Linked DNA regions of Homo sapiens: regions 1, 2, 3, 4 and 5 are each linked to region 6. The links are contacts of gene promoters, found by promoter capture Hi-C in blood cells and fetal thymus (Javierre and others, 2016). All regions are on one chromosome and are shown on one strand. Each heading gives the region's core, a stretch centred on a gene start or on the middle of the fragment in contact. The rest is flanking DNA. Distances are from core to core; before and after follow the strand shown.

What was found. Contacts are between HindIII fragments. The CHiCAGO score rates a contact against its expected background, and 5 or more counts as called.
Region 1: a fragment that was not itself captured here is called in contact with the fragment with the promoter of DPY19L1 in region 6 in 2 of 17 cell types (naive CD8 T cells and total CD8 T cells); the score reaches 5.9 in naive CD8 T cells.
Region 2: a fragment that was not itself captured here is called in contact with the fragment with the promoter of DPY19L1 in region 6 in 1 of 17 cell types (total B cells); the score reaches 6.2 in total B cells.
Region 3: a contact is called between a fragment that was not itself captured here and the fragment with the promoter of DPY19L1 in region 6, in 3 of 17 cell types (total CD8 T cells, activated CD4 T cells and non-activated CD4 T cells). The highest score is 5.7, in total CD8 T cells.
Region 4: the fragment with the promoter of NT5C3A here is called in contact with the fragment with the promoter of DPY19L1 in region 6 in 1 of 17 cell types (total CD4 T cells); the score reaches 7.0 in total CD4 T cells.
Region 5: a contact is called between a fragment that was not itself captured here and the fragment with the promoter of DPY19L1 in region 6, in 1 of 17 cell types (total B cells). The highest score is 5.5, in total B cells.

The regions. Positions count from the first base shown.
Region 1 is chr7:36,159,880-36,164,206 of GRCh38, forward strand. All of the region lies in intron 2 of EEPD1 (endonuclease/exonuclease/phosphatase family domain containing 1), which reads left to right. Among named protein-coding and RNA genes, the nearest start is that of EEPD1, 8.8 kb to the left of the region's middle. The HindIII fragment of the contact is 2,559 bases long and covers 1,790-4,327 here.
Region 2 is chr7:36,368,454-36,373,015 of GRCh38, forward strand. It overlaps a transcript of MATCAP2 not described here. Among named protein-coding and RNA genes, the nearest start is that of MATCAP2, 3.5 kb to the left of the region's middle. The HindIII fragment of the contact is 2,022 bases long and covers 1,723-3,744 here.
Region 3 is chr7:36,282,571-36,286,605 of GRCh38, forward strand. EEPD1 (endonuclease/exonuclease/phosphatase family domain containing 1) reads left to right here. Exons shown (of 8, transcript NM_030636.3): 5 at 2,116-2,250. Among named protein-coding and RNA genes, the nearest start is that of MATCAP2, 83 kb to the right of the region's middle. The HindIII fragment of the contact is 2,536 bases long and covers 1,518-4,035 here.
Region 4 is chr7:33,060,927-33,065,652 of GRCh38, forward strand. It overlaps NT5C3A (5'-nucleotidase, cytosolic IIIA), which reads right to left and starts at 1,850. Exons shown (of 9, transcript NM_001002010.5): 1 at 1,642-1,850. The coding sequence starts at 1,779. It overlaps LOC124901610 (a long non-coding RNA gene), which reads left to right and starts at 2,259. Exons shown (of 4, transcript XR_007060279.1): 1 at 2,259-2,722; 2 at 3,103-3,221. RefSeq lists silencers at 1,485-1,544, 1,845-1,964 and an enhancer at 2,205-2,364. The HindIII fragment of the contact is 6,622 bases long and covers 1-4,726 here.
Region 5 is chr7:36,393,149-36,397,289 of GRCh38, forward strand. ANLN (anillin, actin binding protein) reads left to right here. Exons shown (of 24, transcript NM_018685.5): 2 at 3,118-3,271. Among named protein-coding and RNA genes, the nearest start is that of ANLN, 5.4 kb to the left of the region's middle. The HindIII fragment of the contact is 5,776 bases long and covers 1-4,141 here.
Region 6 is chr7:35,035,327-35,039,756 of GRCh38, forward strand. DPY19L1 (dpy-19 like C-mannosyltransferase 1) reads right to left here and starts at 2,159. Exons shown (of 22, transcript NM_001366673.1): 1 at 1,771-2,159. The coding sequence starts at 2,068. It overlaps LOC105375228 (a long non-coding RNA gene), which reads left to right and starts at 1,460. Exons shown (of 3, transcript XR_001745162.3): 1 at 1,460-1,595. RefSeq lists silencers at 1,849-2,018, 2,049-2,718 and an enhancer at 2,769-2,998. The HindIII fragment of the contact is 4,166 bases long and covers 566-4,430 here.

The DNA of each region.
Region 1 (4,327 bases), core at 1,819-4,318, 1.1 Mb after region 6:
TTTCTGAGCCAAGGAACTCTAAGGTGTTTCTAAATAGAAAGATGGTCGGTAGTAAGAGTGTTGTGGATTTGTAAGAGAAGACAGTGTGAATGCAGGGAACTTCCAATGTAGGCAGAACTTAGGGTTTATCTCACTAAAGGGAAAGGTGTGACTTTTGTTTTACAAGGAAGCTGGGCCCATTTTGGGTCTGATTCCAAGGTTCTTTGGGAGTTTGATGGTGTTGATTTTCCCAGGGGCTATCCATTCCTTTCTTACTCACTCATTCACCCATCCATCCATTCATTCATTCAGTTAGCAGATCTGTTTGGAGCTCTCACTAGGTACCAGGTTCTGTATCAGGCTCTGGTAATAAAGTGGAGAACAAGACAAAGTCCCTGCACTCATGGAACTTCTGTTCTAGGAGGAAAGACAAACAGGTCAACACACACATCAATCATTACAGATAGTGGTGCATGCTGAGGGTGATGGAGGTGAGGTGAAGAGAAGCCTATTTAGATGGGGGTCAAAGAATGCCTCAGCTGAAAGCTGATGGATGAGAAGAAGCCAGGCACGGAAGAAGCCAGGGAAAAGAATGCTCCATGGAGGAATTGGCAAGTGCAGAGGCCCTGAGAGTGCTGGCTCCAGACAGAAGGCCAGAGTTCTAGAGTGGCGGGTGGGTGGGGCCGCAGAGCAAGGCCAGGCCAGATCAGGTGGGGCCTTCAAGACTTCTTGTAACAGCAGGAGGAGGCCACAGAAGGTTAGAAGCAGAGGCTGAAGAAATGACCTCTTACCAGATAGTCTGACTGCTGGGAGGTGGTGGGGGGCGGGGCGTGCATGGAGAGGGTCCTGGGAGTTGAGTGAAGAAGCTGTTGCAGGATTCAAGCTAAAGGCAATGATCTCTGGGGAGATGGGGAAGTGGGCAGAGATGAGAAGCCTTTTAGAGGTAAAAACTGGCAAGACTTGCCTATATTGTGGATAGTGTGAGATTCAGCAGGTAGCTTGTTTGAAATGCTCTGAGGTTTCTATGAGATAGGTGCAGAGGCATATATAATAAGAAATCCTGGGGCTGACACACATGCCTCTGTATTATTTTAACATGATGCAAGGTGTTCACCTTACCCTTCCCCTCAGCCACAGCTGTGTCCTGGGTGTGGGGTCTTACTTAGGTCCATAGCAGATGGAGTATGAGGCCATGGTCTGCCCTCAGCAGATGGGGCATCTGACAAGGCCACATATTCTCTTCAGCATCAATGACAAATGGACCCAGGGCTTGCTCTGGGGACTTTAGGTGACTATTTCTATCAGGAGAGGTTCGCATACATTCAGTTCAACATTGAGCAGCTACTTTGTGCTTACTACCTGATGAGGTCAGAGGCATGGGCGCAGGAAGACCCCACTTTGTGGTCGGGGGCTCACCGTCTCAAGGACATACACATTCAGCAGGTATTTCCAGGATGATGTGTGGGATGAGGGAGGATGTGAAGCTTGCTAAGAGACCTGAGAGCACAGGGACTTGGTCGCTGTCTGCTTGGCTCTGCAGGTATGTGAGACCTCAGCATTCGGTCAGGGATGAAGGGAAAGGACCAAGTCAGGTGGATGGGTGGTTGGAGTCTGAGAGGAAGGAGTGTAGTGGCATAGTGACAATTGAGGCTGAAAGTCAGCATCCACCCTCCCCCATGCACACACACGGCTGAGGAGGGGGAGGTCCGGGCCCTCCACTGAGGCTTATGATCCAAAATACTCAGACAGGAACATGGCAGCCTCCCACACAAGGCTCCTCACAGTGAGAGAATCCGGTATACAAATGCCAAGCTTATAAGCAGGAAGGTGTGTGTCATTTTAATTTCAAAATGACCTTCCCCAGCCTGGGAAACATAGCAAGACCCTATTGCTACAGAAACTTTAAAAATTAGCTGAGTGGGGTAGTGCGTGCCTGTAGTCCCAGCTACTCAGAAGGCCCAGAAATTCAAGGTTGTGGTGAACTGTGATCATGCCATTGTTCTCCAGCCTCAGTGACAGAGTGAGACCCTGTCTCTCTCAAAAAAAAAAAAAAAAAAATTACTCTACCTTACAAAGGATTTTATCCCAGAATTCCCTAATAACAATCAGTGTCAGTAACAAATAAAATGATAGATTTTACTGAAATTCTATTTGCTCATCATGGACATCCTGGTTTGTGTGTGGTAATTTATACCTGGGTAGAATTTCACACTGATGACTTCTCATATCATAACATCCAGGAAATGCCACAAAAATGTCCTGCTCTACCTGACAGGCTGTTAGTCCTCATCAAATATTTAGGAATCTTAGCAGCTTCCTCACCCTCCTTCTCATGAGTGTTGTACACATGCCAAAGTTCTTATGTAATGTCTTGATTGACAGCAGCCAAATTGCTGAACTCAAGTGGCTGGGAACCCTGGAGAGGTGTGCTCAGAGTAAACATTTCATTATAAAGGGAAGTGTGGAATCCTTCTTGCAGACTCTTGAATAAAGAAAGCCTGGGTTGGCTGGGCACGGTGGCTCACACCTGTAATCCCAACTTTGGGAGGCCAAGGTGGGTGGATCACTTGAGCCCAGGAGTTCGAGACTAGCCTGGGCAACATGGTGAAATCCCATCTCTACAAAAAATACAAAAATTACCCAAGGTTGGTGGTGCACACCCATAGTCCCAGCTACTCAGGAGGCTGATGTGGGAGGTTAGCTTGAGCCTGGGAAGTGGAGGTTGCAGTGAGCTGAGATTGTGCCACTGCACTCCAGCCTGAGCACAGAGCGAGACCCTGTCTTAAAAAAAAAGAAAAGAAAGAAAAAAAGAAAAACCTGGATTTTCTTTACTGACTACAATTCCCCAACTAATATTGATTTGTTGTTTGTTTCCAACGAGCCCTTGTTTCCTGTGAATTCTATTTTGGTTCAGCCGTTACCTGATTAAGCTGTTAAGCTGGGCCTTAAATTGTTTTACCTAGAGGCTGCTGTATACTCCTGAAATGCAGTGCTTAAGCGACAGTACGTTGTTCCCATTGCCACATTTAAGGTTGCACATGCTTTGGATGTTCTACGGATCTGAAGTCTTGTTTGCTCACCCCAAAACTGGAGAATAAAACTAGTACTTTGTCTTTTTCAGCTTATGCTAAAAGTGGGAGGTCTCAGGTGGGTTGTTGTTTTTTAAAAAATATCTATCCAATATCCTGTTTAAAAAAAACACTTCTCTAGAGTATATTTTCTGTTAAGCAAATTCAGTCTAATTTTTTTTTTAGCAGTTTATGTTTCTTGAATGGGAAAAAGCCAATATTTGGGTGACATTAGGCCTTGGTCTTAACTGCCAGTGGTCTCAGGGCTCCTTCCTTCCTTTCTTGGTGGGCAGCCTCTGTGGCTTCAGATTATTGTGTTGTTTTATGGGTAGGTTTTTTTTTTTCCTTTTCAAAGTGATTCCCAATCTTTTAAAGTTTTAATTTGAGGACTCATTTCAGATAGCAAAATACTTCATGTCCCTCTACTCTCCCTTACTCGATGGTGTACTTTTAGTGTCCACTTGGTGGTAGAGGTTGTGCTAGAACAAAAACAATGATAATTAACACTGACAGTTGCTGTGGCTGAGGGCCATAGCTAAGTTACAGATACAGAAGAGATGGCTCAGCGAAGCTGAGAAATTTTACTGCTTTCAGAGGGTGGAACTTGGTTTATAATCCAAAGTCTTTGCAGTTAGACTCCAAAGTTTGATGATAAAAAGCTCTTCTGTTCAGGCTGGGCGCGGTGGCTCATGCCTGTAATCCCAGCACTTTGGGAGGCCGAGGCGGGCGGATCATGAGGTCAGGAGATCGAGACCATCTTGGCTAACACAGTGAAACCCTGTCTCTACTAAAAATAAAAAAATTAGCCAGGCGTGGTGGCGGGCACCTGTAGTCCCAGCTACTCGGAAGGCTGAGGCAGGAGAATGGTGTGGACCTGGGAGGTGGAGCTTGCAGTGAGCCGAGATCATGCCACTGCACCCCAGCCTGGGGGACAGAGCAAGACTCCATCTCAGGAAGAAAAAAAAAAAAAAAAAAGCTATTCTGTTCAGTAATGCTTCTCAGAGTAGTTGTATTTCATTCATCACCCAGACTGCATTCTAGGCTAGATGCTTTCTTAACCAGCTTGGCTTGGGTTCCCTAGGTTATGATTTTTCGTAAGTATACTGATATATAATGATATCATCATGTGTCTACGAACATATGTATTTGTCTTAGTGTTTGTCTTTTCAAAGTGGAGCAAGGATATTTGCAAAGCAAACTGATTGCAGGATACTATATTTTTTATGACTTTTCTGTCTTTTATAATTGTCTTAACCACACTTATTTTGACAGCAATTTCT
Region 2 (4,562 bases), core at 1,484-3,983, 1.3 Mb after region 6:
ATTCTGTCTTCAAATCCTGTGACTACTGTTTTCGAAATACATCCAGAATCTAGCCACTTGCTACCACTCTGGTTCAAGCCACCACCACCTCTTGTCTGGATTATGGCAGTCTTCTAGACAGTCTCTGTATTCCCACCCTACCCTCTTTCACACTGTTCTCAAAACTCATTGGCCAGAGTGAACCTGTGAAAAAATCAGATCATGTCACTCTGTTCAAAATCTTCAGTGGCTTCCTTTCCTGTGAAGTCCTTTATGACCTAGCCTCCTGTCACCTCTTTGATCTCATCCCCAACTACTTCCTCCCCGATGGATACACTGGCCTCTTTGATATTCCTCAATTCCAGGCACTATTTCACCTCAAGGCCTTTGCAACTTGGAATCCTCCCTGCGTGGAATGTTCTTCCCTCAGATATCCGCAGGACTAGCTCCCTTACTTCCTCAGGACTTAATCCAAATGTCACCTCTTCGTGAGCCCTTCCCTGGCCACTCTATTTAAAATTCTACTCCTTCATATTTCCTATAGCCCTTCTCTGCTTTATTTTTTTTACTTAGCACTTAACATTATCTAATTTATTATATATTTTATTGATTTATCATGACTGTTGTCTGTCTCCATCCCTAGAATAAAATTTCCACAAGTGCAGTGATTTTTGTTTGTTCACTGCTATATTCCCACACCAAGAAGAGTGGCTGGCATGTAGTAGGTCCTTAATAAATATTTGTGAATTAATGAATAAGTAGACAACAGAAAGTGTGTGCATTTTCAATGATAACTAAAATAATATAGAATTATATCAAATGGACCAATAGACGAAGAACAAATCTGCTTTGAGTTAAAACACTTGCTATAGTAATGAGCAATGAATCTGCTGCATTTGTAAGAGTAGTAATTCTTGCAACATATGTCCTAAGGAAAAAGGCTCTAAATTAACCATGCTGTTGGCTTCCTTATATACCCAGAATTCTGAAAGCTGTTTTCCAAGTTTGCTATAAATGCATCTATTACCTCTACAAATTTCTAGTTTTTAAAGTCACAGTCACTGCAGTTTAAGAGCTATTTCTCAAAAAAGAAAGCCTCCTAAAAGATGTTACCAAGTCATATGTTCAGTGCTTTTACTAAAGTATGTTTAATCATATTGCCTATTTTCATTATATTTTAAGTAACCAAGATACATATTATCTTCCTCATTCCACAGGTATTTATTTATATAGAAGACACTGGGCTTGGTGTTTTTGGAGTACATAACAAAAGATGATACCTATCCTCAAGGACAGTCCTGACTAGCAGGGAAGATTTTCTATAAAATACATATATGTGTGTATATATATATACATGTATACATACATATAAAAATTAGAAAATGATGTGCATTCTAATTTCAACACTTCACTACAATTAAGAATTCCAAAAATAAACAAATTTGATGCCTCTGTAGTTAGCCTACCTGGAATATTATATCATTCTTTACTTTTATAATTATTTTTATGTTCACCCTACCAATATTTTCTTGTGGATAATTTTTAAATATCTTTAGTGATAAGCACCATATAAAGGTATTTATAATGTAATCAAAACATTTAAAAAATATATCTCTGTGTATTATTGAAGCACTCTTGCTAACAAATTCATGAATACAAAGAGTTTATCTAACTTCTTATAAAACTTGTACTGTTACCAGCTCCTTTTACTATTCCCATCTATGCAATTATTCATCCTCATCAAGCTTTCTGCATCTGCTTTGTTAATTACTGATTCGTGCTATGCCTGCTTAGTGTTTCCATTGGGTTCAGCATCTGCAGCTGTCCAGTTGGCTGCTTTTGAGTCAGCATTGTTTTTACATATCCACAAGAACAATGAACAATCTCATCTTTCTGAGAAACTTTCCTTTATACCTGTTTCTATATTAACCATTAATATTGAGACAAGATGATCGACTTAATTATATTACTGCTCCATTTTTAGGGCACTGATTTCAAGATCAAGTTAGGAATTTGTTAAAACTGCTTTTGTTTTTTATTTTTATTTATTTATTTTTCCTTTTGAGATGGAGTTTCGCTCTTTTTTTTGCTCAGGCTGGAGTACAGTGGCGCAATCTTGGCTCACTGCAACCTCTGCCTCCTGGGTTCAAGTGATTCTCCTGCCTCAGCCTCCCAAGTAGCTGGGATTACAGGCATGCGCCACCACACCCGGCTAATTTTGTATTTTTAGTAGAGACAGGGTTTTACCATGTTGGCCAGGCTGGTCTCGAACTCCTGACCTCAGGTGATCCACCCACCTTGGCCTCACAAAGTGCTAGGATTATAGGCGTGAGCCACCACGCCTCGCCATTAAAACTGATTTTAATAATTTATGTTTATCTTTAAGGATGTCCTTCACCCTTTTTAAAGTTTTATTAAACTTAAATTTTTCAATAATAACCAAAAATGCCATTGCAGTTGTCTTACTGAGATATACTCACTTTCCTTTTATGGTCATCTTTATGAATTCTAGAAGCATTGTATTGTGGAACATTTTGATTAATGAATATCTGTAAGGATGATTTCCATTTAATTTTAGATTTAAAATAATAGAAAAATAGGTGTTTTGATAGAAATATTGTTATTTTATTTGTAGCAGGATTGTTATGTTATAGGTAAAGAACGTATTTATTTTATTTCATTTTTTGTTTTGGGACAGGGTCTCACTCTGTTGCCCAGGTTGGAGTGCAATGGCATGATCATGGTTCACTGGAGCTTCAACCTCCCAGGCTCAGGTAATCCTCTTACCTAAGCCTCAGCCTCCCAAGTAGCTGGGACTACAGGCATGTGCCACCAGGCCAGGCGAATTTTTTGTATTTTTTTGTAGAGATGGGGTTTTGCCATGTTGCCAGGCTGGTTTTGAACTCCTGGACTCAAGCAATCTGCCTGCCTCCGCCTCCCAAAATGCTAGGATTACAGATGTGAGCCAGTATTTTTTTATTTTGTCAGTAACTTGTTTAACTACTCATGTTAATCTCTATATTCTTCTTACATAGTAGAACAGATGTTGACAAATGTTTATTTACTATTCATAAGTTGATGGAGTTTTGGTATTAAAAAAAGTAAGTTAAACCATCTGTGTAATAAAAGAAGATCATTTTCTTTTTTGAAAAAAAGATCAACATCCTGCTTGTTAAAGACTCAGGAGAAGTTTGATCATTTACCTTGATAGGGGATAGAGGCTAGTAAAGACCAAGAAAGAGGAAGAGAGAGATGGTAAAGCATGGACAAGGCTGCCAGAAAGTGTTGCTACTGGAAGAAAAGTATATTATTTCACTTTGGTTTTTTTTGTGTTTTGTTTTTTCCAGAGACAGGGTCTCACTCTGTTGCCCAGGCTGGAGTGCAGTGGCGCGATCATAACTCCTGGGCTCAAGCGATCCTCCCACCCTGGCCTTCCAAGTAGCTGGGACCACAGGCACTTTTTATAGAAATGGGGTCTTGCTTTGTTGCCCAGGCTGGTCTCAAATTCCTGGCCTCAAGCAATCCTCCCTCTGTAGCCTCTCAAAGTGCTGGGATTAAAGGTGTCAGCCACCATGCCCAGTCTGTAATACTTCACTTTCTATAGCAGAAGTTCAGTTTTTTGAGAGCATATCATGCTTGCAACTGAAAAAAAAAAAGTTTAATTTCTTAAAAAGAGGTTTTTATCTTATTAACACAAAAAGAATTAGAACATTATATTTACTTACTTGTAAGTTTCAGATGAGAAACTTAAAAAATGGGGAGGGAAGCTTCTGCAGCCTACCATTATAAAAGAACAGAGCAACTCTAGTTGCAATACCTCAGATTCTGATAAGCATTACCAGACGCCTCAGGGCAAACTGTGAACATTGTTTCTTGATTCATAAAAGAGGAGGAAAAAAAAAGAAATCTAGGAAATAGTTGGTAGAATTGGTTTTTCCTTGGCTTTAAAAAAAATTTCAGCGAAGTTTGAATGCTTTCAGGATGTCTATATCAAGAGAATGGAATGTTTTGCAGCATGTCTATATTCAGGAGAATGAAAAGCGTTAAGTAGAAGCCAAATAAAAGAATGCTTTGTGAAACGCCTCTGCCTTTTTACCTCAATGAAAATAGAACAGCACAAAAACCCTGGGGAACACTGTGATTTTACATGTGTGTAAATGATGTTTTTAATGTTTGTTGGAAATGATTAAGGGAGGAAGGATGTTTTTTAATCAGCCAAAAAGATACTGCTCTTTATTATATTTTGGAGAAACCAAGATGTGCATTAACTTACTCCTTCCACAGATATTTAAGTTCCTATTATATACAAGGTAAAAAGATGATGAAAAAGATATGAAACCTACCTTCAAAGAACTTACTGATGGTATGTACATACATATGTAAAAATGATGGCTGGGCATGGTGGCTCACGCCTGTAATCCCAACACTTTGGGAGGCCAAGGTGGGCGGATCACCTGAGGTCAGAAGTTCGAGACCATCCTGGCCAACATGGTAAAACCCTGTCTGTACTAAAAATTCAAAAATTAGCCAGGTGTGGTGGTGCATGCCTGTAGTCCCAGCTACTCGGGAGGCTGAGCCAGGAG
Region 3 (4,035 bases), core at 1,536-4,035, 1.2 Mb after region 6:
CCACCAAAACCTCTCGGCCTCAATTCCTTCATCTGTAAAATGGGAGCGATAGCCCTTTCTTAGCTCACCTATAGGGTGGCTATAGGATTTTAAAAGATACTATGCATTGGAATGCATCATGAACGTAGCGCAGGCCAGGGCCAGGCGGAACGGGCATGAGGTGGCAGGCTGGCCGCCTGCAGTGGACTGAGAGAGCTCATGCCTGGCTCTGGCTGCTGCTGGGTCCATGTCTACCCAGTTGTTACCCTGCAGTATTGTGGGCCCAATGTGGCCAAACCTCCCAGTTTCATTTTAATGGGAAATTTCCTGAATTTTAAAGATGAACAGATAATCCAAAAAAATTTAAACACTATGTGAATCAAACAGAATATATCTGCAGGTTGAAAATGTTCAATCTCTGTCCCTAGACAAACATAAGAAAGTGGGCCATTTCTCCGATGCCTGAAATTCTGCCCCAGGCATCTTCTCCCCAGCTCCCTAGGGCTTACACGATAGCCAGAGGGGTGGTTTCCAGCTGTGAAGGTGAAGACCTAGTAAGATGAAATGATTTGCCCACAAGCCACCCTTTTGCAATGTGAGGTGCTCGGACCTGAGCCCAGTTCACTCTCTCTGTCTGGAAACCCTGTTCCTCCGGCTGCTGTTCTGGAGGAGAGGGGAGCGCCTAGGTCAGGGGCATTGGGAAAGGCTCCCAGGAGGGGCAAGAAACCAGCGGTGGAAGGAGCAGCACGCAGGGAAGTGGGGGTGGGGAAAACAGTGCTGAGCAGGTGAGGGAGGCAGAGGAAGGAGTAGGCCCCACCGCAGAGGCTTCCCCTCCAGGGCCATCGGGGAGCCCCTGAAGGCTTTTGGGCGGAAGATGACTCGAGTGATGCTTTAGGTAAGTTACTCTGGCACCATGACTTGGGAAATGGCAGATGGAGAGATAATCCTCCAAAGCCAGCAGGGCAGTCATACCTCCCTCCAAACCAGAGGAAGCTGAGGTTTAGAAAAACTGAGTGGGTCGCCCAGGGTCCCGCGGCTAAGTGACTCAGGTGGGACTGAGGCCCAGGTCTTCTCGTTCTCAAACCAGCACACTCTCCAGGGGGTGGGCAAGGAGATAATTTCAAATATAGAAGTGCACAGCATACAATACATTCATTCCCTCCCTCCCTCCTCCTAAAAACACGCATGTTCAGACAAGGCATGTGGCTTAGACCAGAGCTGACCTTGGGGACTTTGTGGTGGCTGCTCAGGAGGGTGGTTGTGCAGAGTCACTTCCCCTCCTTTTGCAATGGGGAAGAGTGGTGATGAGCACTGCTGGCCTCTCAAATGACATGCAGATGGCTCCCAGGCAGCGGGTGCTGAGGAAGCATTCTCATGGACAGCAGAGGCTGTGGTGGGGTAGAAAGGAGAAGTGTGTCTTCTTCCACAAGCCCCCAGTGGCGGCGGCAGCAGCGCAAAGCAGGCATATTCAGAGCAGCAGGGTTTAACACTAGGCACTAGGACTCTGCCCCACCGCCAGCCCTGGCACCTCTGACCTAAGCTTCACACCTCTGCCATGGCCCCATCCACCTGCGGAGGGCCCTCGAGCAGCCCCAAGCCATTAGGTCAACTGCGACCTCCACTCACCCAGAAAACACTGAGTGGGCTCTTACTAGGTGCCAGGCACCATTTTTGTAAGCTGCAGCTAATCAGTAAGCAAAACCCATCCCTTGGAGTTATATGTTTTAGTCTCAGCATTGTGATCAGCTGTGGGATTTCAGGAAAGTCACTTAACCTCTTTGAGCAGCAGTGTCCTCATCTGGGAAATGGAAGCATGAATTGCTACCTCATGGGATGTGATGATTCTGAAGATATCTCTGTGCCTAGCCGGGGCTTCACCCACCTCCCCCCAAAGACAGAAGAGCCCAGGCCACCCTGTCTGTATGGAAAGCTCTGAAATTGGCAATATGTGAAATTATTTGGGCTGGGGAAGGGCAAGGGAGAGTGGCTGTGGCTTTCGTGGTGTGCTTTTGGTTTAGAAACAGCTTGAGCCAGAGTAGGGCCTACTGCCTCTCGGTCTCTCTGGCCTCTCTGCCTCCTTTCCCCAGGTGGCGCTAGGGCTCTGGCACCAAGACTCTGTCTCCCTCTCCGCTGCAGGGAGCTGGGTATGCAGGATTCCTATGGGACGCGGCTGCCGGCATGGAGCTGAGAGACGCGGGTTCACAGGAGAGCTCGCCAAGCAACGGGCACGGGAAGCTGGCGGGCCCCAGCCCATACCTCGGGAGGTTCAAGGTACCCGCTCCACGCCGTCTGTGACGTGGAATCTGCTTCTTTCTAAAAAGGAAAGAAAAGGGCTCATTTTGTAATAGCATGAGTAAGAGAAGTCTCGTCTTTTTGCCTTGATTTCAGCCTCTCATGATTGGAGATTTTTGTCTCTCCTGGGGCTTCCTTGGCAGGTGAACTTGTCCAGGGCAGGAATGAAAGGGATTTTGAGACAGCCCCAGTAACTCTGGCATCTGAGCAGGAGAGGGGGGAAGGAGGGAGATTTGGTATAGCTCCTAAACCTGACCCTCATTAGAGTCTCCTGGGGAGATTTTCCTACAGTCAGGGATTCCTAGACCCCACCTCAGACATACAGAATTTGGGGGATTATCCGGATGGCCTACTTTCCAAAAGCCCCTTCAGTGATCCTTCACCTTCCTGGCACTGGTTCACAAGGCCAGGTGTTAGGGAATGGCTGGATTCAAGGGCAGCAGAACTGGCCTGAGGAGCCCCTTCTTATCGGCTGCATCTCAGGCCCGATTCCTTTATTACCAGGGAGAAAGGCCTCTCAAGGGGTGGTTTGGGTTTGGAGGGGATTCAGGAGGAGCTCTGGGCTGTGGGCCAGGGGCAGTCCTGTCACTGGCATCGCCCATGTGGGAATCTCTGTCCCCCCAGCATCTGGGAGCAGCTCAGCAGATTGATCGAGCGCAGTCTCTCTGGTTCTCCCCGGATGCCCTTGGGAAGTGTTAATGAACCGCAAAATGGTCAGCAGCTGGACAGCAGAAGCCAAAGCAGGTCATGAAGTTGGCAGTCAGTGAGCCTTATCCCCGTGGTCCTTGACCATGAGCTCACAGGCCAGGCAAGCAGGTCCGGTGCCTTGGAGCTCAGCAAGCGTATCCCCTCCTGGGCATGGAGACCCCCTGCTTTCTGTGTGCTCCAGAGCAGTTCTTGAACCTGACAGTCACCTCAAACCCCAGCCCAGGGAGTATCTGCCAGCTGAGGGTTGGGAGCAGCCCCTGTGTTGAGGCTACAAGGCCCTGTGCCACCTTGCACACTGTGAGTTGATGAGGGTGGGTGTGTGCTCACCCTGGGGGTATCTGTCACACCCAGCAGCCCCTCTCATTCCTCTGTCTGTGATATTGATGGGGCTCTGTCTGCACATGTACACCTGGGGGTGTCCATGGGTTGTATCTGTGGTACTGACGTGTAAGTCAGCCAGGTATCACCTTTAAGCCTCCTAACACCACCCTGGGCCCTTTTTTTATGTCAAGTTCCTGTTCCAGTGTTGGCCACCTGGGGTTATGGCCATGTAACCCTATGGGTGATACTGATAATCCAGTATTACCACAACGCAGGCTGTTTTTAAGGGTATAATGAGAAAATGCTGGTTAGCCCAAATCCTCTAAATAAAGCAGCCCCCTAAACAGGCACTTGGCCTCTTGTACTTCATGTCACATTATAGGCCTGGCAGTTGGTGCAGTACAGAGATGGGGCTCATCTCCTCAGGCACTGTGCCCCCCACCCAGCCTTAAGATGCTTTCTCTAGCAGGCAGAGCTGCAGCTGCAGAGCTCTTGGTCCTGGTTGCTGGCAAACTGGGACCACATCCGTAAGATAAGACGGGCACCCTCCACTTCCTGGGGGCTTCCCCTATACCCCTTCCCTTCCTGGCAGTGTTGATGTTGGTTGCCATGACAAATGGAAGGGCAAGATTGCTAAGCCCTGAGCAGCTGAGCAGTGCTGTGATGCCCAGAGACAAACTCTGACCCTGTGTTTCTGCACTTGCCCTTGGGGATGCAGGGCTAGGGCATGTCCTA
Region 4 (4,726 bases), core at 600-3,099, 2.0 Mb before region 6:
TCTGAATTAATATACTATGCATACATGTAAATATTGACTGATTTCTTTAGTACCAATAAGTTGGTATTCTAGATAGGTCTTCATTATTTGTCACAAAGATAGCAAACTGTTCCTATGATGGTATCATTGAAGGATTTTGTGAACACACTGATTTTTAACCTTACTTGGCTTAGATAAGTGGTATACAGACCAATCCATAGTTTAAGCACAGGCAGGGAGATATGGCAACTCGGTTTTTTCCCCTACATAGGCATTATTAACCTTGGGCAAAAGAAAGCCAAGTTTTCTAAGCAGGAAAGCAACAAAAGCAAAATGAAACTTCTGAGTTAAAACCATTTGCTGCTGTGGGCATACAGATGTGGGACAAATGAATTTTAATAAGCCTTTAGAATTATTAAGACCCTTTAAGAATAAATTAATTCAAAATTAGGGAATATTATTGGAATATGAGACAAGTGGGAATTAACTTTTTTTTTTAAGAGACAGGGTCTCGCTATGTTTCCCAGGCTGGAGTGCAGTAGCTATCCACAGGTGTGATTATAACCTTGAACTCCCAGACTCCAGTGATCTTCCTCTCAGCCTCCCAAATAGCTGGGACACTGGCTAATTTTAATTATGCAAATACATCTGTATTCAACCTGGGGTCAGTACAACCAATAGGACAAATCGTGTCTTTCGTCAGTTGGAACATATTGCAGGTGCTCAGAAATTCCAAGTATTACACCCTAAAATGATATTATTTAGTGTAGATTTTAAATTTTTTTCTATCATAAATCATCTGACCCTAGATGTTCACATGTATAGCACACGGTCAGGCGTATACCCAGGATTATGCATTTCAGGAAATACATAAGCGTGCAAGTTTGTGCAAGAATTGTCTTCCTGAGTGGGTTCTAATTAAAATACAAAACGAAACTAAATATCCTCATTTTTGAAACAATTACTTATAATGTATCTCAAAGGGAATTCTTGAGACACCCTCTTCAATAAAAAATTAAATTCGAAAATGTATACAAGAGCTTTGGGAGTTAAGATGAAAACAAAGATATTTCGTGGGAGTTTTGAGACAAGAAGGAATACATTCAAATACAAAATAAACTATCCTGAATTTCTCCTGGATTGCCATTCTTGTAAAATTTTAGATATTGCACATTTTCATAATCTAACTCACGGCAGCCCCAACATAAAACTAGTCCTCTGCGGGAATTGCAACTAGATTAGCGGCAACGGTTTGACGCGGATCCGGGGGGAGGGCGGGAGCAAGGCAGGGAGAGAAGGAGCCACCTGCCCAGGACATGCAGCTTATCTCTAGAGAAACGGGTTTTGCAGCACAAAGTAGCCTGTGTCCGATTCATCTATTTTCTGCCTTGTTCCTTCAAACGGAAACCTAACAAAGACCACGGGCAGCCAAGGGCCGCAGCCGGGGACCCAACCCTGGTCACCAAGCCCGCGGAGTGGCCGCACGCGGGGCGGCCGGGTCCCCCAAGCTGCGCGTCCCGAGCTAGCGAGATCCCAGCCTGACAGGCGACGCCGGCAGCTCCCCGTCGCGACCGAACAGCGGCCCAGCACAGGCTGCCGAGGCCAGCGGACGGCCCAGCCGGCCCCTCGCGTGCTCTGGGCGCGCCGAGCCTCCACACTCACCATCTCGATGATCTTGGTCTTCCGCCCCGTCTTCCTCTTCAAGGTGAATATGTACTGAGCCAGCACCACCCCCGCCACCAGGGCGCACACGCTGGCGCTCGCTACCGCGCCCACCCTCGCCACGGCCGCGCGGTCCATGGACGGGGCCCTCATGCGCGTCCAAGCAGGAAAAAAACAGGCAGCTCGCGTAGACTGCGAGTCTCGGAAGCGCGGGATCCCAGAGCATCACGGACGAGCCCGCGACGCCCCGCCCCGCGCAGCGACGCCCCGCCCCGCGCAGCTCCGCCCCCACGAAGCCCCACCCACACGCCATCGATGGGAGAGGCCAGGACGCGGCGGGAGGGGTGTGGCCTGTGCCCGGAGCCCAGGCTGGAGGCGGCCTTCAGCAGACTCAGGGTCTCACGAGCTGCTGTCAGGGCAGGGCAGAGTATTGCGGTAATTATCCTTCTCTGCTAATGAGGATTAGGCCGTGGTTCGCTCGAGCCCCGCCCCAGTAGAAATCTAATTCCAACTGCGGCCCGCTAAGAAGTCGGTCTCCGCCTTCGCGCCTCAGCCCCTCTGGACTCCGACCCCCAGAAGGCTGCGCGGCACGGTGTGACCTGCGCAGTGGCGTCCGTTCTAAGTGCTATAACAACAGGGGGAAGATGGCTCAGAGTTAGGCTGGAGAGGGGCGGTGTCCCTTCCGCCGCAGCCGCGGGGTTTCTGCTACATCCCATTCGCCACCTCCGCCATCCTTTTTTCTGTGTGAGCAGAAGGGCTTGCAGTTGTTCTCTCCTGCCTAGTGTCTTCCAAGGGATAGATGCCATTTCTTCTGCTGGTCTCTGGGGGTGAGGAGGGGCGCAGGGGAGCTTCTTGGGGGAATCGCTCCAACTCTGTGGAGCTGGTGGTGCTGCCTGGTGGGGCTCTCTCTGCCCAGGACGTGGAACAACTTTCAGCCGGAGGACTAGAGGAAATAGTTGTAGGGGAGGAAAAATTGTTTCCTTCTAGCCTTTTAGGTCATTTGGCTGGTCTACAAATTAAATTGATGTAAGACAGAGGAACATGAGAAAAACGATTTGTCGACCGAAAGGTGAAATAACAGGTACTAAAACTTAAAGAAATCATGGTTAGTTTTATTACTCGGCCAAGTTTGAGGACTTAAGCCTGGGAACACAGACTCAGTATAGACCGAGAACGTGTCCCAAAGTAAGTTAGCTGGGAGTATAACCTGAAGAAGACTGAGTTTTAATACCCAGAATATTTGAGTATCAATATCTAGACTACTGTGTCATTTTGTCGCCAAAGTAATTTTTTATGAATCCAGTTTTGCACCAAATACCAATATGACTTAAATGTTGTCTGATTGTGAGGCCTAAGATGGTCACAGTCTCATTTATCTTTCTTCCTCAACAAAAACATTTTCCATATATTACATATTATTTTGAATGGGTAGAGACTAAAGCCACGTTTCTATAATTTCAGGATTTTAAACATTTTGTAGACGATAACATTCGTCTTGAAGCTGTGGACAATCTAAAACAGAAATGGAGTTCCAAATTTTGTTTTTGTAATATGGCCCGTCAACTGCACATGGGAAGAATGTGGGTACTCTGAAATATGATTTCTATTTTAACTAGTTATACTATATCATAGGTCTGATTATCATCTATATGAGATGTTAAAGCTGTAGGAGTATAGTCAATTAGACTACAAACCCTGGTAGTAAATTTCCAGGAGGAAAGGGGTCCATATGTTTTTTATAAGTGTAAACCTTGTGTTTCTGAATCTAAGAGGGTTGGCCATGTTTGGAGACTATTTCAGCTTCTATGTGAATTAACATATTAATTATTCTTGTTGAAAGACATGGAAGATCTTGATATGGTTTGACCCTGTATCCTCACCCACATCTTATTTTGAATTATACTCCCATAATTCCCATGTGTTGTGGGAGGGACCTGGTGGGAGATAATTGAATCATTGGGGTGTTTTCTTCCATACTGTTTTCGTGGTAGTGACTTAAGTATCAGGAGATCTGATGGTTTTATCAGGGTTTTCGCTTTTGCGTCTTCCTCATTCTCTCTTTGTCTGCTCCCATCCATGTAAGATGGGACTTGCTCCCTGCCTTCCACTATGATTGTGAGGCTTCCCCAGCCACGTGGAACTGGAAGTCCAATTAAACCTCTTTCTTTTGTAAATTGCGCAGTCTGGGGTATGTCTTTATCAGCAGCCTGAAAACAGACTAGTACAGATCTCTACACGGAGAACTACAAAATACTGATGAAAGAAATCAGGCCAGGTGAGGTGGCTGGTGCCTGTAATCTCAGCACTTTGGAAGCCCAAGGTTGGGGGATTGCTTGAGGCCACAAGTTTGAGACCAGTCTCGGCAACATAGCGAGACCCTGTCTCTACAATCCCTGAAAAACCAAAGAAATTAGCTGGGCATGGTGCTGCGTTTCACTCTCGTCCGTGTGAAGAGACCACCAAACAGGCTTTGTGTGAGCAACAAGGCTGTTTATTTCACCTGGGTGCAGGCGGGATGAGTCCAAAAGAGAGTCAGTGAAGGGAGATAGGGGTGGGGCCGTTTTGTAATATTTGGGTAGGTAAAGGAAAATGTGTTAACAGTCAAAGGGGGGTTGTTCTCTGGCAGGCAGGGGTGGGGGTCGCAAGGTGCTCACTGGGGGAGCTTTTGAGCCAGGATGAGCCAGGAGAAGGAATTTCACAAGGTAATGTCATCAGTTAAGGCAGGGACCCACCATTTTTCACTTCTTTTGTGGTGGAATGTCATCAGTTAAGGCAGGAACAGGCCATTTTCACTTCTTTTGTGATTCTTCACTTGTTTCAGGCCATCTGGGCATATAACTTGCAGGTCACAGGGTATATGATGGCTTAGCTTGGGCTCAGAGGCCTGACACTGCATGCCTGTAGTCCCAACTACTCAGGAGGCTGAGGTGGGAGGATTGCTGGAGCCTAGCAGTTGGAGGCTGCAGTGAGCTATGATTATGGACTCCAGCCTTGGTGAAAAGGTCAGGAGATCGAGAACATCCTGGCTAACACGATGAAACCCCGTCACTACTAAAAATACAAAAAATTAGCTGGGCGTGGTGGC
Region 5 (4,141 bases), core at 939-3,438, 1.4 Mb after region 6:
AAGTAGCTGGGACTACAGGCATGCACCACCATAACTGGCTAATTTTTGTATTTTTAGTAGAGATGGGGTTTCACCGTGTTTGCCAAGCTGGTCTCAAATTCCTAGCCTCAAGTGATCCGCCTGCCTTGGCCTCCCAAAGTGCTGGAATTACAAGCATGAGCCACTGTGCCCAGCAGAGACTTTCTTATAAAGGCTTACAGCCTACAGTGTGGCCATCCTGACAGGCTGGGAAACATATTTAATAGCTTCGGGCAGAGACTGGAAACAGGCACTTCAAGAGAGGAGAAGCTGGAACAGGGATTTATGCCTAAAGGGTTAGCCAGGTATACATATTCAACAGGTTATAGGCAGAGCTATGAGTATTTACAAAGGGGTCCTGATGGGTGGGTACTGAACAAACGTGCAGTTACATGCATCCCATGTTCACTTTGGGATGAAGACTTAACGTGGAAATACATTACAGTTGGGCCCTATATGTCAAAAGGTGAGGTGGGGACATGAAGGCATTCAAGTGAGCAGCCTCTGTAAACTGGCCAGAATCAGTTCATGGTTGGTGGTCTTCTTACTGAGATAGATTTATTGAAATCAATCTCTTGTCCAATTAAAGCTGTAGCTGTAGCTTGTGGAGCAGGAGGGTTAGTCAGTGTCTGATGGAAGATGAGCTGCAATTGTTTTAATATTTATTGCTTATCTCAAGGTCAGTGCTTGTTCAGCTACTAGAGTAAAAGAAAAACTTTGGCAGTTAGAAGATAGTTTATTTTTTAAGTGTAGGGAGTTTGTGACTTAACCCTTGCCTGGCATGGCCTTAGGTCCTAGTTATTTGTTTACAGACAGGGTCTCACTCTGTTACCCAGGCTGGAGTGCAGTAGCGATCACAGCTCACTGCAGCCTTGAACTCCTGGGCTGAAGTAATCCTTTTGCTTCAGCCACCCCACCCCCCAGGTAGCTGGGACTACAGATGTGCCCCACCATGCCTGGCTAACTTTTGTATGTTTTGCAGAGACAGGATCTTGCTTTGTTGCCTAGGCTTGATCCTGTTTATAATTTGATATCTTATTGCTACAAAGAGTCTTCTGTCAGTCTTATGATCTCTATTTAACATTAATGCTCATCAGTTATTGTGTTTAAACAGCAAAAGGAGGGGTATAACAAGGTGCATGCGGCCTCCTGTTCCATCATGGCTGAGAACTCGGTTTTTAAGGTTTCTCTGGGGTCCCCTTCATCAAGAGGGGATCTGTTCAGTTGGTTGGGAGGATTAGTATTTTATTTTTAGTTCTCATATTGTATCATGGGGGGAAATTATCGGACATATATGGATTTGTGAAACAATATGCTTATTCTTGAATTTGTTGAAGGACTTTTATTTAGCGGGTGAAGGTCTTGTATTTTGGAAGCCATTTGGTTCATAAATTATTTTTTCAGTGATTAGAGCATTTCAATTTAGTGTCACTTTTTTCAATGAACTTTAAATTAGAAATCATTCTTAAGAAGAGTAGAGAGTGTGCCTTCTTTCAAATTTAGCTCATATTTCTTTTACATACTCAGATTTTTAAAAAATTGTTACTGTATTTTAAGGAATTAAAAAGAGTCAAATGGAATTTAATTTTTCAGCCTGCACTAACTACTGTATCTGAGTATGCAAGGCAGTAATAATAATCTGCATACCTCCTTTAGTTGTGTGCATTTGAAAGAAAATGAATTGTTTTACAGGGTCTTGTGTTTGAGCTTTACTAAAATTGACTTAAAAATAGGAACATCAGTTGATTTGGAGTAGAAAGGAGTATTCATGACTTTATGGAATGGCTAAGATTTCAATTTAAAACCATTTTATTATATGTTAATATTTAGTTAAATAAAACATAAGATTATTTTGTTTTTCTTTCCTCTTAGGAAGTGTTTTATGTTTTCAAAGGACTAATATGTTATTTATCTCTTGCTGCTTACCACCACCCCAGATTTTAGTGGCTCTATTAGTTTTGCTGCTGTAACAAGTTATCACAAATTTAGTGGCCTAAAATAACATATTCATTATTTTACAGTTCTTTAGAGACAGGGTCTCACTCTGAAATCTGAAATGGATTTTACTGTGTTAAAATCAACATGTCAGTGGAATTGTGTTTCTTCTGGAGGCTGTAGGGGAGAATCTGTTTCCTAACTTTTCTTGTTTCTAAAGGCCATCTGTATTTCTTGGCTTGTCCTGTTCCCCCATCTTCAAAGCCAAAAATCACATTACTCTGACCTCTGCTTCCATGGTCATATTTTCCCTGACTCTGATCTTCCTGCCTCTGTGTTTTCCATCATAAGGACCTTTGTGATTATGTTGGGCCTGACCAGATAATTCAGGATTATCTCCATCTAAAGATTCTTAATCACATCAGTAAAGTCTCTTTTGCTCTGTAAGGCAACATATTCAGAGGTTTAGGGTATTAGGACAAAAAATCTTTGAGGGACCATTATTTTGCCTACCATAGTGGCTTAAAACAATACTCTTATTTCTCATGATTCAGTGGGTCAACAATTTGTATTGTGCTCAGCCGGGCTGTTCTTCTGCTTGTCTCTGCAGTGGTCATGCAGGAATCTTCAGTGATCTGGCAGATTATCTGGAGCTGGATGGTCTAAGGTGGCCTTATTCATATGTTTGGTAGTTGATACTGACCATCACCTGGGCCATGTGTCTCCTCTAGTAGACTTAACCTGGGCATGTTCACTTAGTGGCAGAGAGAGAGAGAGACCCCAAACTGTAAAATCTCTTGATGCCTAAAAGTCTCACAATATCACTTGTACCATATTTTATTGGTCAAAGCAGATCACAAGGCCAGCCCAGATTCAAGGGTGAAGAAATAGATTCTGTCTTTTGATGAAAGCAGAAAAAATTTGTGGCCGTTAAAAATCTTATATAACTAACTTTACATATTTTATTCCTTCTGTAATATTCCTGTAATAGTTATGACATTGGGGTACTCATTTAGTGAATCTTGACATAATTGCTTAGGATTTCACTTTTGAAATGTGTTTAACTGTCATCCTGTATGGCAATTGGTGATTTTAGAAGATACTGCAATTTTATGAACCTTTGATTAAACTTGTGTTTTAACACTGATATATTTATTTATGTAGAAACTGCTGGAGCGAACCCGTGCCAGGCGAGAGAATCTTCAGAGAAAAATGGCTGAGAGGCCCACAGCAGCTCCAAGGTCTATGACTCATGCTAAGCGAGCTAGACAGCCACTTTCAGAAGCAAGTAACCAGCAGCCCCTCTCTGGTGGTGAAGGTAAAAGACTTTGTGGGGAAAAATAACATTTACTTTTTTTTTCTTTTGAAGGAGACAAGCCCCAAACATTTCATTAGCATATAGAAGAACCAAGCTCTTTGGGAGACAAATGTAACAGCCTCTGGGGGAAATAACAGCCTTCTATTCTATTTCAGAGTTATTATATTAGGCCTAGAACCTATAGGGTTGGAACGGTTTCTTCTAAAAAATATTTTAAATTAATTGATTGAACTTTATTTTCTTCATTCTGAAGTTATCCTTAAAACCTCAAGGGAAGAAAAATAAAGGAGTAGGGTAACATTTATACTTACAGTAGTGTGTAGTTTTTTTATCCCAGGGGTGGCAGAACAGCTGGCCACTGAGTTTGGGTGGTGTCTCCGGTACCAGCAAGGCAATGGAAGGCACACTGCCCATGCTTGACATTTAATGAACCCTTTTCACTCTCTATTTGCTGAACCAACTCTCTAAAGTTTAGGTTGTTAATCTCCAGAAGTGGTGGAATTAAACACAAGCACACACACACATACACACAAACAAAAACTCACCTGTAGTCTTACTCTTTCCTCAATCCTAGGATTGATTCCCAGCCAGCATCAGACAGCCTCCTTAGTCTTTTCCTGGAGTGTAGAATAGTCTGGAGATAATAATCTTCCTTAGTACGACTGTAAAATACTGTAATACAACTGTAAAATAAAATATAGAAAAAATTACAGAGGGCAAAACCAATGTTTTTTTAAAAAAAAAGAAAGCAGAGAAGTGTACATGGGGCTAGCTCAGTTATTTTGGAAGCTAATCATAGAACAAGAATTAGTTTTCATACGTTTATCCATTTTGAAGGGAGAGTGAAGGAAATACATTACATATTATATG
Region 6 (4,430 bases), core at 909-3,408:
AAACTGTATTTAGGTATGGGAATTACTAAATCCAAAGGTAAGTCATCCAAATATAAGTCATGCATCCATCCAAAGAAGATTCAAAGGAAACGCAATCAAAAAAGAAAATATGCAGAAAATAGCAATAAATATCATTATTCTAAGATTTGTTATTGTAACATCCCTGAAGAAGCAATGCCATTCTATATTTTACTACAAAGTGGTTAATGTTTAGTCATTCAATAAAAATGCAACTCCATTCTGTCATCAGATCTCAAATCAGCATCACACACTTTCTTTTATTACAACAACTACAATGTGTCAAGTGCTCTAAACACAAAGTATCTTCCCATGTATCACCCACACCTTTTAGTTATGATCCTTAACAGATCCTGTGGATCCCTGTGGAGTAAATTCGCCATGTGATAACCCCCCACTAGCAGAGAACGAAAGACTCACAAAGGAACCTGAAACTTAAACCAAACTGAACCGCTGTGTACTAGATCTGAAGGCTCTGCCTCATCCACTGTATCGTGCTGCCTCCCCAAGGTGAGCTTTTCTAACCTGCATACTAGCCAGCTTTTCAAGCTTGCTACTGAGATAAAAAAAAAGGGGGCGGGGGGAAATGTGCTGGAAACAGACAAACAAACAAACAAAGAAAAACAAACTTGGTTTTTCTAGGCTTGAATCGGCAATGGGGGGAAAAAAAGTACCCTAGGAACAACCTTCTTGAGCCCATTAAAACATACAGAGATGACTGGCTTTTTATGACTGAGTGGCTTTTATTTGTGGCTGTGATCTCAGGGGAAGCCAATTTGCTGTGTCCTATTCCTTGACTTATACTGGACCCCAACTCCTGGCTAAGGGAACTTTGAGTCACCAAGGGAATCTGAAAATATACTAAGGGATAAATCAACAGTAATTAAATAGTTCAGTAGCGAAAAGCCCACTGAGGCATATAGAAAAAAGCAATGTAACAGCATTTCACTAGTTGACTTAGAAAAATTAGGCCTGTTATCCAAACTGCTACAACTTGCCTTATCAAAATTCAACCAGGAAACAGAGGAAACCTGAAGTCAGTCCGAAACATACGAATGCGTCAACTTTGTTTTTTTTTTTCAGCACATCATTACACATCATCCATTTGGTAAATGGCAGAGGGAGGGGAGGAGAGCCCTCCTCACCAAAGGTTCCAAGGGCAGCAGGGAGGATTAAGGCTCGGGCGCCCCAAACACAACACAACCTAGAAAGTGACGTGTCGAGGGGAATCACAAATAAAGTGCCACCAGCGGCGTTTGCGGCCAGGAAGAAAAAAGTACGCTAAAATTTAATTATAAGTTTAAGCAACTCTCTACGACATGGAACGTGCGTTTGCTTTGAGCTCCACGGAATCGTTTCCAAGCCAAAGCAAACCATCCTGGCGGTCAGAGGCCGAGATAACGGGAAGGCGGCCAGTCGTACCAATCAGCAGCGCTCAAGTCTCGTTAGCGCAGACCTGCTGCCCGCGGCCAGGCCGGGCAGCTGTTGATCCCCGGGCCATTCTTTTAAAGCCCAGGCAGAGCGCGGGTGGGAAGCGTGCGAGGAGAGCTGAGCCAGGGAGTTGCGGGGAGGAGAAGGTAAGAATGTCCCAGAGAAAAAGTCGGAGAGGGCTGCAAACTGGCTGGTCCGGCTGGCGGGGCTCGGCGCGGCGGAAGCGGGAGGAGAGGGGAAGGAAGGGGAGGGGAGGGGAGGGGAGGGGGCCAGCGCCTCAAAGTTCCGCGTCCCGGCGGCGCCGGCGCTAGGGCTGCTCACCTAACAGGAGCGTGGTCCAGGTCCGGCCGCGCCCCGCGCGCCGCAGGCCCAGCGCCCAGCGCAGCCGGGCGGCCAGGCGCCCCCCAAGGCCGCCCCCGGCGGGCGGCGCGCCGGGCTCGGCGCGGGGCCCCTTCCTGCCCGCGGCGCCCTTGCGCCCCGGGGACAGGGGCGCGCGCTCGGGCCCCGGCTCCCCGGCGCCGACGTCCGACGCCCCCCTCAGCGGCGACTGTGAGGCGCGGGGTGGCTGGGGCGGCTTGGGAGCCGCCTCCCGGTGCTTGTTCCGCGCCTGCAGGACCATCTTGGCATAGTCGCGCCCGCTCGCTGCGCGCGCCCGGACGGCGGCCAGAGAACGGCGGGCTGGCTGGGCGGCTGGGCGCAGCTCACTCTCCAGCGGGCGGGCGGGCGGAGGGTGGAGGGCGGGCTCGTCCCTCCCCGCGGGCCGGGAGGCGGGGAGATCGTGGAGGCCGGGCGGCTGCTGCCTGGCTGGCAGTACCGCCGGGAGGCGGCGCCGGACTTGCTAGCCCGCCGCCGTTGCCGCCGCTCCGGTTGTCACGGCGACCGCGGAACGCCGGGGGGCGGGGGCGGGGACACCCTGCGAGCGGCCGCGGCCCCGCCCCCGCCGCCCCTCTGCGCCGGACGCGCGCTCCAGGCCGGCCAGCGCGCACGCGCGGACTTCCGGCGCAGGCGGGGCCCGACCCCTCTGGCGCCCGGCTACCCACACCTCTTCGGCGCCCGCGCGGGGCTCGGCCGGTGCGAGGACGCGGGGGCGGACGGCCTTCCGGAGGCGGCCGCCCTTCCATTGTGGGAGTGATGGGGCCGAAGGAAGAGCCCTCTCGGGATCGGGGCGCTGATTCAAGTTTCGGAGCCTGTTAAGGCTGCGCTTGGAGCCCGCGCAGGCGAGACGCGGCGGGGCAGGGAGAAGGCGCCCGGAGCGGCCACTTAGGGGCGCTGTGCGTGCGCCCTGGGCGCCTGGTCGGCCCCACCGATGTGAAGCGCGCGGGTGGCAATCAAGTCACCGTCTCCGTTTACTCCCCGCAGTGTGGTCGCGCAACTTGGAGCGCAGCCCCTCACTCACCGACAAGAAGAACGGGTGCGACCCGATTTAAGATAGTAACAGAGTATTAAAATAGCAGCCTGGAATCTCATGGGGAGCTGATAAGGGACGAGGCACAAGTGTAAACTGAAGACCAGGGTAGGAGCCAGGCTGAAGGTGATAGGATGGATTGGCTGGAGCAGGAAAGATCATCAATAAGTACATTCAGTTTGTTACACTTGCTGTAACCTTGTTGCTTAATAGGAAGCAGGAAAACTTGGCGTTGATAAGATAGGAGATTTTAGTCGAAAATATGTTTTCTTTTACATAGCAGAATGCACGAGTAAATTAAACCCGGGAAAATTTAGAAACCCAGGTAGATCCCAATTCTCCCTCCACCCCTGCATTCTTTGCACACAGTCTTACAACAGCATGGATTACAACTGGGAGGTTCCTTTCCTGGCCGTGCCCAGTGGCTTGTTCCAAAAAGTTGTCTTTAAGTCCCAATGTTGTAAATCAAGGCCCATCGTTCTGCTTATCTCTATTGTAATTCCAGGGACTTCACGTGGCTTTCTCGCTCTTTGTTTCTTTGCCCAGTGATTTCTTTACTAATACCAGCATTCGTTCATTGTTAGCCTTTTTAAGAGACAGTGGATTATTTTGTAAAGGGAGGGTGTTTGCCATGCTAATTAATACTCCCTCATACCCTGTCTAGTTTATGAATTTGGATTTTCCAATGTCTTTATTGGAGCAAAGAACAACTATTTTTATACACTGGTTTAAAAAATAATGGTTGAAAGTAGGATGCAGAAGGCTTGGATTCTGAAACATTGTGTCAGCTGAACTCAATGCTACCTCTGGGATTAATGTTGAATGTATTCAGTTAAAAGAAAGCTAATTCAATGCCTATTAAAGATAATACGAATAACTGGCCGGGCACCGTGGCTCACGCCTGTAATCCCAACACTCTGGGAGGCCGAGGCGGGCAGATCACGAGGCCAAGAGTTCAAGACCAGCCTGGCCAAGATGGTGAACCTCTGTTTCTAATAAAAATACAAAAATTAGCCAGGCGTGGTAGCAGGCGCCTGTAGTCCCAGCTACTTGGGAGGCTGAGGCAGAAGAATCGCCTGAACCCGGGAGGCGGAGGTTGCAGTGAGCTGAGATACGCCACTGCACTCCAGCCTGGGCGACAGAGCGAGACTCCATCTCAAAAAAATAAATAAATAAAAATAATACAAATGATGGATTTTTTTTAATGATTAGAAAGACGCATGGAAAAAGAGGTTCAACATTTGAATTATTAGATTGCTGTGTGTCTACTTTATGTGATAGGCCCTGAATTCAGGAACTGCCTCCCTTAAGCTGGTACCGTTTGTACCAGGAAAACACTTGTTGAATGAGTGAGTGAATGAATGCAGTTCCACAAGTGCTTGTCAGTTCCCCTTCTCGGCTTGGCAACCATGCGGAGAGGGGCAGTGTGAGGTATTAGTTTTTTGGTTTTTTTGTTTTGTTTGTTTTTTTCTTAAACACGGTCAATTTAGATCCAGTTTGCAGCCACTACATTGACCCATACCAGCCTTGACCAAGGTATTATACCTCTTTGAGTCTGGATTTCTTCATTCTTAAA